Linked DNA regions of Homo sapiens: region 1 is linked to region 2. Evidence: promoter capture Hi-C in 16 types of primary human blood cells and fetal thymus (Javierre and others, 2016). All regions are on one chromosome and are shown on one strand. The core of a region is centred on a gene start or on the middle of the fragment in contact, and the rest is flanking DNA. Distances in the headings are between cores, read along the strand shown.

Region 1 (5,924 bases), core at 959-3,458, 4.8 Mb after region 2:
ATATCAGGCACCTCCTCTGGTTTCCAATTGTGTGCAACCAGATTCACAAGGGAGAAGACAAATGGTAAATTATACTTAAGACCACTGCAGATCACTCTTAAAATGCCAAGAAAACAACTGCCCATGTTCCTCCAAGGAGTCACACAATCCATTCAGTACTTTCAGGACTGACAAGATCATGTTTATTTCAGTGGCTGGGTAAGTAGAGCATCATAGAAGATAACAGCTTTGTAGAAATATGGTTGTATATAAAAAGTGTTTTCACCTTTTAAAGTCAATACATTCTCTCTCCACCTTATCCTAATAGATAGTTTTAATCATACAATAAACATAATTTTATATCCCATCTCTGGGCCAGATGGCCTGCATTCCAATCCTGGGCTCTACTTCCAGCTGTGTAACCTTGGAAAATTACTTAACCTCTGTCTCAGTTCCTTCATTTGCAAAATGGGAGTAATAATAATACGTACCATGTACGATTGTGATAATTAAATGAGTTAAAACATGTAAAGAATGTAAAATTGAGATATTAGCTAATAGGTACTAAATAAATGTTAGTTTATTATTAAATGCTATTATCTTAATCTTTCCATTTAACACAAATATATACACTTTTCCCATATTTATTATATAGTCTTCATAGCCAACATTTTATTGGTGCATAATAGTATATAAATAGCATACTCTGTTAAGTGGGTGTGCTATAATTTATTTCAACATTATTCAAGACATGGGAATAATGCTTGCTTCTTATTTTTCAAAATTTTTTATATTTTACATTTATTAATAATATCTTAATGTCTTTGTACAGTGACTTTTTCCATATTCTGGATTATTACTGTAAGCTCGATCCCTAGAAAGAGTTTAGAGGAATAATTGGTATAGAAATCTTTAGGTATTTTGATACATCTTGAAAGTTGGACTTTTGATTATAAAGATTCTATCTTTGCTTATTCCTTTCTGAACCTCTACTCAGAACTTGACACAAGGCTCTTCATCCAGCCATTCAACACCTGCTGATATTTGTTCTCAAGGTACATTTAAGAAAGGTCATTATAAGAAATTACCATATTAAAATTCATCTACAAAATTATTTGAGTTTCATCTTTAAAAGATAGTTTTCTAAGTATATAATCACTTCATATTAGAGCTTTGTTGCTAATAAGGGAAATTTGAACTCCAAAAAAAACCACCAGAAAAACCCACTTACTCAATGATATTTTTAGCACGTAAAATTCCCCCTATGAATCATATGCTCACAAACCATGCACCCCTAAATATTTAGCTCCTTCTGACTCATTCTGAAACATTCTGACAACTTCTCCATTGAAATTTAAAATTTCCCAATACTGTAAGATCCTCCTTTCCTCTAATTAATTAGTTCCCTTTCCCATTGGCAAAATGCAGTAGTGATAATCTCTACACTTACAGACTGTGGAATGGAGCACACAGCTGGAATCTTTCACTGCCCACAAGTCTACATTTTCCCATCTTCCTGGTATGTCTCTCTCACCTAATACTGGATTTTCATTGCCCTCTTTTCCTGCCACTGACAACCACCACCCACAGGTAAAATCTTATCCTTCAAAATCTTGGATGTGTCCTAAAACCCCATTTTCAACTGTATTAATGAGAGTTCTCCAGAGAAACAGAACCAATAGACTATATATATGCATATGTATGTGTGTATAAAATAGAATATATATGTGTATACATATAGAAAAAGAGAGAGAGAGATTTAAAACGAATTGACTTATATGATTATAGAGGCTAAAATGCCCCAAGATTTGCAGTTGGCAATCAGCAAACTAGAGAACCAGGGTAGCCAATGGCATAAGTTCCAGTCAGAAAGCTTGCAAGCTGAAGAACCAAGAAGAACCAATGTTTGAGTCTGAAGGCGGGAAAAGACCAATGTTCCAGCTCAGGCAGTGAGGTGGGAGGCATCCCCCCTTACTCAAGGGAGGTTTAGCCTTTTTGTTCTATTCGGGCCTTCATGTGATTGGATGAGGCCCACCCATATAAGGGAGGAAAATCTGCTTTGCTCAATCTATGGATTCAAATGTGGATCTCATCCAAAGCACCCCAACAGATACACCCAGAAATAATGTTTGACCAAATATCAGGGCACCCCATGGTCCAGTAAAGTTGACCCATAAAATTAACTATCACACCATCTGCAGACTCTGGTTTCTGCGCTCTCTCTGCACCGTTTGCTTAAGAAATCACACCCTCTTCACTAATATCTGCGGATTGATGCAGTCTTTCTCTCCCATAACACTCTGCTTACTTCCTACTCTACTAGCAACACACTTCCGAGTGCTCTGTCTTATGCGGGGGTCACTCCACACAGAAAGCTCCCACCACACATGAGAAAAATTGAATTCATAATGTTTGTTCTCAATGGCCCCTTCTCTTATTGTCAATGATTATAGTACCCAAAAAATAAACATGGAACTCATTCCTCAGGTATTTTTCTATTCTGTTGCTACAAATCACACCAGGTTGCTGGTCTGGCCAGCTTTCAAGTTTCTTTGCCACCAATTATTGAATTAATTAGTTTTCCAGCAAGCTTGCTCTTTGTTCTGTGTAGTACATAAATGGCACTCGGGGTGGAAAGTTTACAGTAAGAAAGCAAGACAAGTGCTCATTTAAGTCACCATGAAAAGCACTTAAAACCCCCACACCTTCCAAGTAGACCCTCACTGACCATTATCTACCTCTCAGGCAGGACCAAGTGAGTGGCTTTAGAGACCTGAAAATTTCACCTCAGCGGCCTTGCATGAACCCAAACTAAATTTGAAATATAAAGTCATTCTTTGAAACCTCACTGGAAATGCTAGCAATATGTCTGGGTGATGCTTCTGGCTGGCAAAATGGCAAGTCATTTATCCTTTCTGCCCTTGTTTCCTCATATGTGAAATGAGGAACACTGACTCACTTCACAGGAAGGCTGCATGCGTTTAATTAGTTAACAACACACATCAAAAATACAAACTGCAGAATACCTTTGCTCAGCCGGAAGCTCAGTAAACCTGCCAGGAGCATTCATTGCTTAGTTGATCTAACCTAGATCTTTCCTTACGTCGTGGCTCTGGTTCTGCTCTGACCCATAAACACGTTTTTGTCTACATGTACAGATTCTTACAGACACATGGATTTTAGATTTCTATTTTAATGTTTTCTTTTTATGACTGCAATTGTTGAGGTTTTATGTTTTCTTTATCAAATGTTCACTAAGATCCCTATTTACTACAGAAAACTTTAGACACCCATGCCAAAAAATTGCATGTCCGACTAGCATATCCTAGCCAAATGAGCCCACATCAAACTCAGCTTTACTTTCCTTACTCCAAAGTACCTTCTGTGACTAGACAAAAGATGATGGAAACTTCATCCTAGAACATCAGACCCTGCCAGGCACATTTCCATCTGTCCTATTGAAGATTGCCAAAAGCATTTTCTGAAGATTTTTTTCTCATAAAATTCATCAATCAAAAATTCTTTCAGGCAGAAGTTATTTAAGGACTAGGAAATGTAGTGATTCCTTCCCTGACTGACCTCTTGGACTGCAGGAGACACACCTAACCACAATGGAAGGAGGAAAACAACTGATGCACCGTCAGGATCTGTTTACTTCCTTTCAGCCACACACTCCCCACTGCCACCAGCACACATACAGACATTCAGCCTAAGTGATCAACAATCATAGCCTTACAAAAAAAGAGGAAATCAGGTGTCTTGAACTCTAAAGGAAGTGGGAAACTTCACAGCTAGAGCCTGGAACCCAGAAGTTAGGAGATAAATCAAATTGATGCCAAGGAGGAAAGGTTGAGGCCAACAGCTTGGGTTTGAATGGATCAATGGCTGGCCAACCAAGTCAAAAAGTAGCCTGACTATGTTGACATTGGAGCAAGGGAAAGTCTTGCTGATAAGCAGTGGCAGGGATAGAAAACATTCATATTAAATGTGTTTGTTCTCTTCTGCAGTGAAGACTAAATAGTTGAAGGGGAAAGCCTTCTTAGATTCCTCTCCTTGAACTAGCACTGTTAATTTGCTAACCTGTGCCAAATTACCAGTCACCTCTCATCAGTCCTCTCTTGTCAGTCCTACTTCTCAACTTTTCCCAAAGATTCTTAGGACCACTAAATCTTCCCACATCCAGTTCTCTTCCTTTTAGGCCCTTATTGCTTCAGGCTCTTCTTTTTTCATTTTTCTCCTAAATAGCCATGGCAGAATTATGCTGGGACATTGTAGTTTCTAGGTGCATTAGTATGTGAATTAGTCTTTATTTAAAGAAACTATGGCATGCCGATCACCATGTTGGGTATATAAGAATGCTTTTAAAAAATGAAGTCATTTCTTCTACCAATAAAATTTTCTTTCTAATTAAAGAGTTCATACCACCACAAATACAATAGCACTGAAAAAATGCATTAACAAAATGAGGTATAGGCAAACAGAAGTCAAGATACTACCAAATAAGCAGAATCCAGAGGTCCTAAAGGAGCACTCTCCAACCACAACCCCAGGAAATGAGGTCAGAGCTAACTGGGGAAAGTGATCACTCCAGCTGCCTTCACTTCTTACTTCCTATTCACTCCTTCACCCTCTGGCATCTGGCTTCCTTTCGCCATATGTTTGCTATCTAGCAGCTGATGGTTCTCAAATTTAGCATGCATGAGAATCACCTAGAGGGCTTGTTCAAACAGATTTCTGAGGCCCACTCCTAGTGCATCCAATTCAGGAGGTCTGAGATGTGGCCCCAAAATTTGCATTTCTGAAAAGTTCCCAGGTGATGATGATGATGTTGCTCTCGTCCTAAATCTTTCCTCCTTGTGAAGCTGCTTAAAATATTGCTTTGGTCAAATCCCTTCAAACTCTAAAATCCACCCTGATTTTTGTGGCCTAAATAATGAATTCCCAAAGCTGACTCAGGTATTAGGGTCTCTGCAATCTGCCCTGACCTTCAGACAGAGGCCAGATGGACACCTGTTGAGTCAGTGGTAGAATAGACTCCCGCACTGAGCAAACTTCCCTTCCAACTCTCCAATTGTATCAGGTATATCCAAGTTTTAGTTTTATGATTTCTCTGATAAAATCATGGCTTCAACCAATCCATCCTACTAATTTTTTGCGCCAAGATTCCATCTTAACTATCACATACGCACCTTTGTTAATGAGATTCACATTGATTTCTGTCTTCACAAATCCTAATCACCCATCGAAGTCAAACCCAGTGCCTTCTTTTCTACTGGTGTTCATAATTCCATGGCTCTCGGGTACTTTGTATTTAGTCTTCCCCTTCTTCTTCTTCCTCTTCTTCTTTTACTCCTCCTCCTTCTTCCTCCCTCCCTCTCTTCCTCTCTCCCTTGAATTATTCCTATCACTATAAAACATGATTTAGAACCTCTTACCCTATAAAAAATGGTTAACAATCACAACTTAAACATATGAATCACATGCCTACCATCTACCAATCGGTCCATTCCTTTGTTTGCTTTTACAATTTCTCTACACATAGCTTCTTTACTTTTTCACTCGGCATTCATTCCTTCTTCAATCCTCTGCAATTTAGCATCTAGCTCCACTAATTTGCTCATTTTAACTCACCAACAATCTTCTCTGTGCCAAAGTCAACAAAAATCTTCTCACCTCATTCACCTCTCAATAGTAGTCAACATATTTACCAATTTCTCTCTTCTTAACTCTCTTCCTTCTCTTGGCTTCCAGCACTCCACACTCTTTTGCTTTTGTTCTTACCTCATTGGTCACTCATTCTCAGTCCTCTTCCATAACCTCTCTTTTACTCAGCCTCCAAATTATGGAGTGCCCAGGAGCTCAGTGCTGGACTCTCCTCTTACTATCTACACCCATTCCCTACATGATCTCATCTATTCTCATTGCTTTAAATATTGTCTGTCCAC
Region 2 (6,383 bases), core at 1,988-4,487:
GCCCCAGGGATATGGTGAGGGGAAAGGAGAGGCAGGAGGGCAGAGAGAAGGAAGCTAATCTGCCCCTCCCATCTGGGAACTTCCCAACACCCTGTGTAAAGAAGAAAGGAGAGTTCCAATAATGACTCAGAGTAAATTTTCCTCCTAAGAAGTCACATGTGAGCTCTGCGTTTTTATTTAATTAAGAAAAATAGCGTATTGTGAAATTTTCTGTTTACCCAAGTTTGAGACTGCAGTTTTTTTTATTAGTTCTTTCCTAACTTGTCTCTGTCTTTAATCTCATTACTCATTTCACATACTGAGCACCCAGCATTAGAGTGTTATGATCAGCCTGGTAGTGCAGCCTTGGATTCTTACATAAAGAGTTTGCTGATCTGAATTTAATTTAGTTAATGATCCAGCAAGCACCCATTTTAGTCTACTAAATGCTAGATACTGGCCTAACTATGGCGAAAATGCCCTGAAGAATAAGAATAAAGTTCATGGTTCAAGATTACCTTTTGAGAGGACAAAACTTTCCCATATTTCCAATAATCAATTTTTAGAAAATAAACTAGATCTTAATTAAAAAAAAACAAATTAACCAATTCAGTAGATATTTATTTAGCTCCATACATAGGTAGAGCTCTGAGGAGGATAAAATTAGTCTTTTCCTCTCGGAAACATATCATTTTATAAGCAGGATGCCATACCTGGAAATTAATAGACAACTCGGAATTGTACAACAGCTTATTCTGGCAACACTTTTTTTCTTCCTGTTTCCAAAAGGAAGGAATGGTATCTCACAGTGTTCTCTGTTTAACCTTGACTGCTGGCCCTGTAGCGGGTCTTGCTTTCACCCCTCCCCGCATGACTCGTTCTCTCATAATTCCCTTCTGTATTTAGCGGCCTATGTTATTATACAAGTTTTGCTCCCCATTACATCCCTGGCATTTCACTTTGTGCTTGGTACAGAGAATATGCTTAATACTTTTCTTGAATGAATGAAAGTGTCAACTGAAGAATGACAGGTTCATACATTTGGAAAGGAGAGCTTCATTTCACATAAAGGATTGCAGCCTGCAGGGTGATCATTCTGACCTCTGAAAAGTATAGCCTCTAATCAGAAGCTGGAAACAGACATTTTGAGGGAGGAGCAAAGGAAACAGAAATTTATGTTGAGCAGGGTAGCTGAATATATATATTCAATAAGCTATAGGGGAAGCCATGAATATTTGTGAAAGGAGAAATGTGCACATGCACAATGGAGTTTCATGCTTCTCCATGGGATCCGTGTTCAAAAAATGACAGCATTAATACAATCTGAGGGGGCAGTTTTCAGCCCAATGTGAAGCAGAGGACATGAAAACCTTTACTGCACATTCTCCATAGACTAGCCAGAAACATTCCATGATCAGTATTTTCTTTTTGTTCCAAACCACAAAAGAGAGGGATAACACCAGGTGATGGTTGATGTCATTGGTGTAATCTTTTGAAATGACTGGTTTCTTTTTAGCCATAGGGCAGAAAGCCTAATCATAGTTAGTGATGGAGCGGGTATGTGTTCCACTTCCTATCCTGTCATGGCCAAAAACTTAGTTTTCAAGTTTACTCTGGGATCCCCTTGGCCAAGAGCGTGTCCGTTCAGTTAATCTAGGGGCTTGGGATTTTATTTTTATTCCTCAAATGTAACAAATTTAAAGAAAGAAAGAAATTTATAAAACATAAGAAATAGAAGTATAGCTTAGACCTCCAAGCAAGTTCTTTAAAGGTGACAAGTTAAACAGTAGTTTTTAAGATAATATTTTGATGAAATTTTTAATCATATTATTACAAGATTTTAGAAGAAGCAAGATCTTGTGAAAACAAAACCTTAATGTCCATATCTAGCTCTCTAAATCTATAGTCAGTCTTTAAAAGAGTGACACAAAAATGACACAGATCCGCCCTCTGGTTCGCTCCCCATATATTAGAGCCTGGTAATCTTCCAAAGTTTTTACAGCATGAGGCATACACAGAATAGATGCAAAAAAAGTACACCTTCTGAAATTTCCTGAATGGATTCAAACTTTTACTATTCTAAGTTAATCAATTGGTAGTCTACTTACTTTATAGGATTATTGTAAGGATAGGATCAATGAAGTGAAATATATTTTATTTTCACTGGTCAATTACTCGTATTAAAGCAATTTCATGCACTTTATCTCCCTCTCTTGGAAACTGGAGAGTAGTACTTTTTGTCTGGTTACTTAAGATTAAAAAAAAGACAATATGTCACTTTTGACTTGAGTGTCATGGTATCTATGGCCTTCAACCTGCATGGTTTTATCGTTTCAGTAATCTTGGGAGGAAGGTATTATTAAGTTCATTTGATAAATAGGAGACTGAGCCTCCACAAGGGTTAAGTGAATTGCTCAGGGTTATACAATGAACACTTGATAGAAATGATTAAATGACACTTTACTTGATTTGTTGTGGGTTACTAAATAAAGCATAGGTGTGCATAAGTCATTCAATTATTCAAGCACATTCTTCATCCCTAGTCCTAATATCGAAAGTCTTTGCTCTTAGTTTTTATAACTACAAGGATATTCATCAAAAGACCCAAGCTCAGGAATAAGCCTAAAGAGGTAGTCAGACTAGAACAAAAGACAATTCACAGACTTAAATGAATAATTTGCATTAATGAAGTTTGCCAGGCTAGTTTCCACTTGAATCTTCAGATCTTTCTTCCTTCATTGTCTTGTTAACTGTCCAGATTTATTACCTAGGAGTTTTTGAAAACTCACATATTAGGCAATAGAGTGTATTCTGGAATTGAGAGCCTATTTTAAACTTTTGACTAAAAAGTTTACCCATTAAATGTCATAGATTCAACCATCAGACTGAAAATCCTCAGTGTATTTGAAGGAGGGTATTGTCTCAAAAATCCAGAGCTCAAAGTGAAGAAGAAAGGCAAAATTTGGAATTTAGCTCTAAGACCAACTCATCAGTTCAGGGGTCAGAGATTTATATAGTTAAAGGACAAGTGTGTGTTTACCTGAGTTTAAAGAGCAAAGTTGCCTCTGGAAAGAAGCCCTCACTGGAGGCTCTGGCATTTGAAATGGTGGGCAGGAGCACATGTTGCTTAAATTTCTGACAGTGGCTGGAGATTACCGATTGGTTAGGGGAGAGGAAGTAAAGTAAAATATTTATAAATTCTCCACTGGGTGGAGTCTGAGCAGTTCTTTGAATTTCTCACCCTAAGATCTGGCCTGTACATTTTCAAGGAATTCTTGAGAGGTTCTTGGAGAGATTCTGGGAGCCAAACACTCCATTGGGATCCTAGCTGGTAAGCTTGAGGCGCTGATAAAAACTCTCTACCCTAATGTTTACTCCATGTTTTTTCCAAATGAAACTTCTGTCAGCTAGAATCCTTGTCATAGTGTTTTAGAGGTTTTTTTCTGCTACTCTCTTCTTTTTTTATATATATTCTTTTTGTAAATAAAAATGGTATGACCTTCCTAAAGGCCCCACCTTTAGAAATGGGTTAAATGAAAAGATCTTTACTAATGTAATAGAAAAGAACTGATGAACATAGTGCACTGAATATGGTTACATTTGACAAACCAAAGTTAGTCCTGTTCTTATTTGAGTTTAAGCGGTAAGATTAGGTCAAACTCCAGACGAGGGAAAGATATTCTTAAACAGATTTTAAGTCCTCTGTTTTCTGGTAACTTTAATTGTCTTATGCTGCTAGTAGTCATATTAAATATTTATTTAGAGAAGTGAAAATGCCTACTCTTGAACAGAGTTTCTTCCCCTTTCATTTTATGAAACCTAAGAAAAGAAAGTTGATACACTTTTTAAAAATATACTAGATTTTCTTTTTTCCTTTCTGCTTTTATTTTGAGGCCAGTGGGGTGTTATTTAGTAGTAACACTGAAGCAAATGTATTGATTTTCTTAACGTGTTCAGCAAGTAATTCATATCCTAGATATGAAATATACACTCGTAGCAGAGTAATGTTACCCATTTCTCAATGATATGCTTAAAGAATCTTGCTCAATATGCATATTGTTTTTCCTTTTTTCTTTACTAATGAAAAACTACACGCTTTCTCAACATATTTTTAAGTCAGGTTCTAAACTTTGAACTCCTATGTACAATTTGCTTATTTCAGGCATGAATGTGAAACTGTGTAAAGATTAACTACCAGACACTCAGTCATTTATTTAACTATTTAGCCCTAAATCAGTGGGTGACTAGGAGATTCTGAATTCTGTGATTTCGTTAAAATCAATCAGTTTTTAATTATTATACAAGCTTTTTACTTTAAAGTTGTAGCTGTCTAAATAAAATTGTGAAAGCACAATTTCCAAACCTAAATCGAAGGCACATTGATGCTGTCCATCAGAAGGTATTGATAATTTAAAAAAATATTACAAACTATCTTTTATCTTTTTATAAAGGACCTAATGTCATTTGAGCTTAACCATAATCCTTTGAAGAAAGTAAAATTTAACTTTAAATAACATTGACATACAGAGCAGTTAGGTGATTTGTCTGAGACCATATGGTATGTATGTCCCCCGTCTTGATAAAATTAACACTAAATATGTAACATTTGAAAATTTGTAAAATATGTAAAAGTTGAAGTTTTTAAAAGTTTGGATTTAAGTTCTTCCTTTCAGAATATGAGCATGTCACTTTATTTGCAAACTAAACATGGCATAACATTATGGCTTGTGAACACTAATTGTCTTAGCTGCTGGGGTGAATGCAGAATTAAGCAGCAATTAGTATGAGTGAATAAATTGCATCCTTAGAGTGAGTGCACTATGCTATTCTGGGAACTAAAGACTATATTTGAGACCATGCGAAGTTGTGCAAGTGGTGGAGTAGGGCAGGGTGCAGTCATTTGGAAGACTATGCCCATCAGGTATCTCAAGGTACCCCAGATGTGACAGGCCCAGGAGCGGAACCAGCCACTTTAACTTTTGCCTGGCTGAAACTGGACTGGGAAGGATGGATTAAAAAGGTAAATCAATTCATACGTAGCTTGTGGTCCTTTGCAGCTTAAGTGTAGGACTGAAAAAAGAAGCCAAAGAAAAAGGGAATGAGCTGAAGAAATACACACACGTACACACACACATCAGGAAGCAACAGGCAAGGAAAAATAAAGTGAGAGGTTCAAGGCTTCGAGGAGGAATTGAGCTCTGTGCATTCCATTCATGGGCTTTGCCAAAGACCAGCACAATGGACTCAGCATCTCAGGCATGGTTAAGTACCCTACTGTGCACTCTGCTATCCTTTTAGTCCACTGGTTTCTACTCTGTCTGTGCCAGGTTTTCATCTCAATATAGAGGAAAAGGATTCTGATGCCTCAGGATTATTACAAGCATTAAATAAGATACAGATAGAATGACGCTAATGAGTATCATTTTTAAAATAAGGAAAGTTGAATTTTATTCAGAATCTGTTGGTAACAAACTAATCTCTTTATTTAAGTAACCCCACTTAGAGTTTAAAGTCACCTCCAATCAACTCAAAGGGCTGACCTCCCAAAGAAAGTCTCAAATATAAGGCAAGCTCTCTTGATTCTGAATTTCATTAGAAATGTTTGTCTAAGTCTTTCTCATATGGTCAGAATGAGAGAGGGTGCCCTTCTAGTAATATGTCATTATGTCAAATAATTCATCAACCAATTTTGTTTATTCTCTCGAACTGCCACTTTGGCGGCAGGGGTACTCTGTCTAAATGAGATGTCTATAAAGATAAATTAAACATGATTCAGGCCCCCAGGTAGAGTTCAGTTCAGTAGGGTAGAACAGCAACTCAGTCCAGCTACCATCAGTAATATGTTTGTAGTAAGACTAATCTGATAGTAAGGCAGAAAAACATCTCATGGAATTTTAGGAATAGCCAAGAAGATGGGTCCCCTGGAGACTTGCACATAGCATGTTGCATGAAGGATTCAGTGACTTGCAAGATGGGCTTGTCTTGTCACCTTTTCAGGAGACATAGCTGTTCAATCCCTTGCCATTGTGTAACTAAGTGACTCTTACTTGCTGCTGGAATCACTTCATGCTTTTCATGCTTTAACAATCAGTGGTTCTGTTTTACTTTGAAAAATGAGTCATTCTATGACAGTATTCCTCCTAGACCCTAGCATTTCATAGCTTCTATCTATGATTATTTTAAATTCTAGCTCCTGTATCTAACTGAATGAATAAGCACATCCCACAGCTCAGATTCCTGAAAGAATTTGATTATGTACTCAGCTAAACATCATCACTGTTTGGTTAGAGCTTTTATAGCAAATAATTCACAGATCTTTGATGAAACTACATTGTCTTTAGTGGGTAAGTGTCCAACAGAGGTCTAATAAACTATGACCAGGCAATTGATAATGCCAAGCGGTA

What was found. The method cuts DNA at HindIII sites, captures the fragments that hold promoters and counts their contacts. A CHiCAGO score of 5 or more calls a contact.
Region 1: a fragment that was not itself captured here is called in contact with the fragment with the promoter of KYNU in region 2 in 1 of 17 cell types (monocytes); the score reaches 8.8 in monocytes.

What each region holds. Positions count from the first base shown.
Region 1 is chr2:147,627,829-147,633,752 of GRCh38, forward strand. No RefSeq gene overlaps it. Among named protein-coding and RNA genes, the nearest start is that of ACVR2A, 210 kb to the right of the region's middle. The HindIII fragment of the contact is 717 bases long and covers 1,851-2,567 here.
Region 2 is chr2:142,874,427-142,880,809 of GRCh38, forward strand. KYNU (kynureninase) reads left to right here and starts at 3,238. Exons shown (of 14, transcript NM_003937.3): 1 at 3,238-3,310. The HindIII fragment of the contact is 4,288 bases long and covers 1-3,313 here.